Linked DNA regions of Homo sapiens: region 1 is linked to region 2. Evidence: promoter capture Hi-C in human tissues and cell types (Jung and others, 2019). All regions are on one chromosome and are shown on one strand. Each heading gives the region's core, a stretch centred on a gene start or on the middle of the fragment in contact. The rest is flanking DNA. Distances are from core to core; before and after follow the strand shown.

Evidence for each region. The method cuts DNA at HindIII sites, captures the fragments that hold promoters and counts their contacts. A contact is called where the count stands out against the background at its distance.
Region 1: a fragment that was not itself captured here is called in contact with the fragment with the promoter of COPG1 in region 2 in 2 of the 25 tissues and cell types used here (aorta and hippocampus).

Annotation. Positions count from the first base shown.
Region 1 is chr3:129,200,746-129,203,896 of GRCh38, reverse strand. No RefSeq gene overlaps it. Among named protein-coding and RNA genes, the nearest start is that of CNBP, 18 kb to the right of the region's middle. The HindIII fragment of the contact is 6,057 bases long and covers 1-3,151 here.
Region 2 is chr3:129,247,936-129,250,935 of GRCh38, reverse strand. COPG1 (coat protein complex I subunit gamma 1) reads right to left here and starts at 1,330. Exons shown (of 24, transcript NM_016128.4): 1 at 1,190-1,330; 2 at 202-254. The coding sequence starts at 1,226. The HindIII fragment of the contact is 12,995 bases long and covers 1-3,000 here.

The DNA.
Region 1 (3,151 bases), core at 403-2,902, 47 kb after region 2:
ACTGTACCACTGCATTCCAGCCTGGGCAACAGAGCAAGATCCCATCTCTAAATAAATTAACAAAAATTTAAATATAAAGCAACTATTATCAATATGTTAAAGGTTACAACAGACATAATGAATGAAAAGATTAGTTATTGCTGGAGAGAAATGGAAACTTAAAAGTAGCCAGGCTGGGCATGGTGGCTCACACCTATAATCCCAGCAGTTTGGGAGGTCAACATAGGAGGATCACTTGAGGCCAGAAGTTCAAAACCAGCCTGGCCAACATGGTGAAACCCCATCTTTATTAATAATACAAAAATTAGCTGGGCATGGTGGCATGCACTTGTAATCCCAGCTACTTGGGAGGCTGAGGCAGGAGAATCACTTGACCCTGGGAGGTGAAGGTTGCAGTGAGCCAACATTGCGCCACCACACTCCAGCCTGGACGACAGAGTGAGACTCCATCTCAAAAAAAAAAAAAAAAGAAAGAAAAGAAATACCTGAGACTGGGTATTTTATTGAGAAAAGAGGTTTAATTTCTCACAGTTCTGTAGGCTGTACAAGCATGGCACCAGCATCTATCTTATCAGCTTCTGGGGAGGCCTCGGGGAGCTTTCACTCATGATGGAAGGTGAAGCAGGAGCAGGCACATCATCACATGGTGAAGGCAGGAGCAAGACAGTGTAGGGGGAAGGTGCCACACGCTTAAACAACCAATCTTATGATAACTCACTCACCATTGCAAGGACAGCACCAAGCCATGAGGGATCTGCCCCATGACCCAAACCCCTCCACCAGGCCCCACCTCCAACATTAGGGATTACATTTCAACATGAGATTTGAGTGGCGACAAATATCCAAACTATATATCATATGCCCTTAGGGAATTGCAAATTAAAACAAAAATGAGATACTATTACACATCTATTAGAATGGCCAAAATCTAAAACACTGACAATATCAAATGCTGACAAGGATGTTGAGCAACAGGAACTCTCATTCATTGCTCAGGGGAAGGGCAAATGGTACAGACACTTTGGAAGACAATTTGGCAGTTTCTTACAAAAATTAAATATACTCCTACCATATGAACCAGCAATTTGCTTTGTGGTTATTTAACCAAATGAACTGAAAATATGTCCACAAAAAACCTGCACACAGATGCTTATACCAGCTTTATTCATGATTGTCAAAACTTGGAAGCCACCAAGATGTCCTTCAGCAGGTGAATGGATAAACTGTAGTACATTCAGACAATGGAATAGCATTCAGCACTAAAAAATGAACTATCAAGACATGAAAAGACATGGAGGACCCATAAACGCGTATCACTAAGTGAAAGATGCCAATCTGAAAAGGCTACATACTGTGTGATTCCAAATACTGTACATAACAGTCTGGAAAAGCAAAAATACGGAGAAGTCCAGGTTGCCAAGGATTAGGAGAGAGTGATGAATAGGCAGAGCACAGAGATTTTGGGGGCAGTGACAACCACTCTGTATGATACTACAAAAGTGGATACATATCGTTATACTTTTGTCCAAACCCATATAATGTATGGCACCAAGAGTGAACCCTAATGTAAATTATGAACTTTTGGGGGTAATGATGAATCAGTGAAAGTTCATTGATTGTAACAAATCTATCACTCTAGTGGAGATGCTGATCCTTGTTTATGCATGTGTGGGGGCAGGGAATGAATGGGAACTCTGTACTTTCTGCTCAATTTTGCTATGAACTTAAAACTGCTCAAAACAATGTTCTGGGCTGGCCACCATGGCTCACACCTGTAATCTCAGCACTTTGGGAGGCCAAGGCACTTTGCATCACTTTACTCAGGAGTTTGAGACCAGCCTGAGCAACACAGTGAAACTTCATCTCTATCAAAATTTTTAAAAAACCCAATGTTCTGGAATTAGTGATAACAACTAATTTGATGTCATGGCACTATGAATGTACTAAAACCTACTGAATTGTACATTTTAAAAGGGTGGCTTTTATGGTATGTCAATTATATCTCAATAAAGCTGTTATTAAAAAGACACTATTTCACAAGATTATTGTGTGGATTAAACAAGATCATGTGGCATTTTGTATATGTCTGTTATAATACTTGGTAAATACTGTTTTGTAAATACTTGTTGCCTTCTACCCATAGACATTAACAGCTGCAGAGCCTGGCCTGGGCTGTCTTTTCAACTTTAGTTTTATTTTTATATTTTACTTTTTAGAGACAGGGTTTCACTCTGTTGTCCAGGCTGGAGTGCAGTGGCACGATCATGGGTCACTGCAGACTTGACCTGTTGGGCTCAAGCAATCCTCCTGCCTTGGCCTCCTAAGTAAGCTGGGAGTACAAGCACCCACACCACCACTGGCTAAGCTTTGTATCCTCAGTGTTTAGCTTAATACCTGGCATTTGGTGCTTAAGGAAGGAATTGCAGGTGAGAGACAAAGTAGAGAGAAGGACCACAGATGACTCCAAGGCTTCTAATCTGGACTAACAGATGAGTGGTGGCTGACACAGACTTTAAAATGATAAGCTGGTTTTGTTTGCTTGTTTGTATATTTGGTAAAGTACATTGTAGTTTAAATGAGTTGTATTTGAACAGTGTGTGGAAATGCCCGGTTTAATCTATCCAAATTTTAAGTAAAGATACAAGTCCCAAATTCAAAAAGGAGGTGAGGGCTGGGTGTGGTGGCTCACACCTGTAATCCCAGCACTTTGGGAGGCCAAAGCGGGTGGATTATCTGAGGTCAGGAGTTAGAAACCAGCCTGGCCAACATGGTGAAACCCCATCTCTACTAAAAAAAAAAAATACAAAATTAGCTGGGCGTGGTGGCACATGCCTGTAATCCCAGCTATTTGGGAGGCTGAGGCAGGAGAATTGCTTGATCCTGGGAGGCGGAGTTTGCAGTGACCCGAGATTGTGCCATTGCACTCCAGCCTGAGCAACAAGAGTGAAACTCCATCTTAAAACAAACAAACAAACAAAAAAAAAAAAACGAGAGAGAAAGACGTGAGGGGTAAAGCTTGAAAATGTGTCATCAGTCACCAGTGGTCTGTGGGCAAAATCCATCCTGCTAATGGGTTTCATTTGGCCAGAACAATCTTTTAAATAAGTTGCCAACAGTTGAAAATTAGAAGATTCTCAAAAATATCAAGAAT
Region 2 (3,000 bases), core at 81-2,580:
AAAAAAAAAAAAAAAAAAAAAAAGAAGTAAGCATAACTAACTCTCTCCAGAAACAAAGTTTTCCTGTCTTCCAGAAAACTTCCAGGCACAAGTTTTCTCCCGTGTTGCTCTTTAAAACAACACTTTGAATGTGTTGGTATTTCAGTTGCATTGGTGGTGAATATTTATGATGGAAGCTAGAGGGGAGCAAATGTCACTTGCCTCCTGGAGTACCGCACTCTTCTCAAGGTGCTGGAATGGGTTGGAGCCTCCACCTACGGTCAAGGACAATGGAGAAGGTAGGTTGTGACTCTGAACTTCAAAACTCTCCCAGACATAGGTAAAGGGAAGATGTCCCTTCCTAGGAAATCTAGTAAAGTTCAAACTCCTCAGGAATGGCAATCAAGCCTCTACAATCTGTCTAGGGATCCTACTAGTCTCCTGCAAGCAGGTGGGCTCCACTCTACCCCAAACCACTCACAATCTCCCAGCAGCCCTGGTACAGTCCTGTGCTTCTCATGGTGCCATGTCTTGTGTTCATTTATATAACTTGTAATTAACTAAGTCCCTATGTGCCAGGGACCACCATCTCGTTGTAACTAGTTCCTTCATAGCAGATGACACATTTGCAAATAATTACACGTGTGATTATCTGGTTGATGTCTGCCTCCTCCATCGTGGGTGCAACCATTCTAATATTCCTAGCTCAGGCACTGAGTGTCCCACTTGCTCTGTTGCAGTATCCAGGACACCGTACAGTACCTGGCATACAGTAACTGCTCAATATACTTTGCTGAATAAATGAATGATGGGGTCAGAGTTCCCAGTCACAGGACGCTGGCTCCGCAGGTTACACCCCAGTTTGGCCAGCACCAACGTAGCCCCAGCGAATCCCAAGAGGTTGGACGAAGAAAGTAACAAGAGAACATTCGGCATGGTCCCCTCCTTTGACAGATGGGTAAATTGAGGCCTGGGGGGGGGGGTGTTTGTCGCGCCCAAGGTCACCCAGAAAATTGCAGTCCGAGCTTACAAGAGTGAGACAGCCGCGCATGCTCGGGCTCTCCGAGGCCTGCCACTGACTAGCTGTGGACCCTGGCACAAGCCCCTGCCCCTCACTGGGCCTCAGCCTCCGGGTCAGGACAGAGAACCAGAAGGAAAGCTCGGCGGGTGGGGGTCCGGCCTCCCTCAGACCCAGGCCTGGCCCCCTCACCTGACTCCTCATCCTTCTTGTCGAATTTCTTCAACATAGTGGAGTCGGTGGGGCGCAATGCAGCAACGCAATGCTCGACGGGCGCGGCACGGAGTAGCGGTGCCACAGTGGTTCTACAGGGACCACTTCCGGGCCCCGACTGGCCACGTCGCCCAGCGCTCTGCGCAGGCGCATTCCGCGCTCTGCGCCTGCGCTCTTTCCGGTAGCCACAGCCTCGTCTAATGTTAACCTTAGCTCCGCCGGAGCGGGAGTGGGGAAAGCCAGACGGAGGGGCAAGGGCTAGGTGCAGGGGGGTACTGACTAGCATCCCAACTCTGCTCCCTACGCTTCTTTCCGTATACCAAGGGAGGAGGAGGAGCCCCTGCCTCGTTGCGTTGTGGCGTGAGTCTTTGTGGCTTTCGGGTGTGAGGTTGGTGGCACACACTGGCCCGCAGTAAACACCCAATTGATGTGACCGGTCTATGACTGTTATTGCCACCTTCCGAAGGAGCCTTGCCAGCCACTCACTCCTCGCTTTCAGATTCTTTCCCCTGCCTGATTTCCTCCTCAGCTCGAATCGCCATCTAACACTTTATTTTTACTTTCTGGCTTTTATTTGTTTATTTATTTCTCGTTCTGCTGCCCAGGCTGTGGTGCAGTTGTGCGATCCTGGCTCACTGCAGCCTACAGTTCCTGGGCTCAAGCGATCCTCCCACCTCAGCCTCCCGAGTAGAGCTGGGCGCACCACCCCCGACTAATTTTTTAATTTTTGTAGAGACGAGGTCTCACTATGATGTTGCCCAGTCTGGTCTTGAACTCGTGGCCTCAAGCGATCCTCCTTTCTCGACCTTCCAAAGTGCTGGGATTACAGCGGTGAGCCACTGCACCCGGCCACTTTCTTGCTCTTTTGTTTTTTTTTTTGTTATTTGCTTGTTTGTTTGTCTTTTATTCACTGCAGTGGATAATGTTGGCACATAGTAGTTGCTCAGTGAGTTCTCGTTGAATGAATGCGTGCAATTGCATTTTTAATTTATATCTGCCGGGCCCTATCTCGTCTGCTCCTGATGCAAATTGCCTTGTACATTATCAACCTTAAGAGATCTAACTAAACAGCATAGAACTTCTACGTTATTTTGTAAATACTTTGGATATTTATGGAGTGCCAACTAGATGCGCTGCCTACGCGGGGAGGTGGGGGGAAGGGCGTGGGAAGGAACGGAAAGGGGAAAATGACACATCACCCAGGGTTTATCTTCCTGGGGACCTATGCAGGACACCCTGAGGCTAAGGTAAGCACAGTGCATGCCAGTGAGCCAGATTGCATTGGCAATGGCAAAGTCGTGATGGCCAAGCGCTGCGACACGGCCCCAGCTTGCCTGGGGAGGGGAAGCCCGCAGGCCTGTGGGCAGGAGAAGGAGTGGGCTGTGGAGAGGAGAGGCAGGAGGCTGAGGCAGAGGCCCCAGGTGAAAAGGGTGACCGCAAAGCTGGAGGAAGGGAGATGTCAGAGGGGCCAGCCCTTAGGGTCTGGCTTTGCAGAGGCTAGGGCCAAGGACAACAGATCTTGTGACATGCAAAATTGTCAAGAGTCAGAAAGATGTTCAAAATGTCTGATCGGTAACCCCACCCCTAATCAGGAGGAAATTGTTCAAAAGAAGAAAATGAGGCCGGGCGCAGTGTCTCAAGCCTGTAATCCCAGCACTTTGGAAGGCTGAGGCAGGTGGATCACCTGAGGTCAGGAGTTTGAGAGCAGCCTGACCAACATGGTGAAACCCCATCTCTACTAAATACAAAAAAAAAAAAAATTAGCCTGGCGTGGTGGTGCATACCTGTAA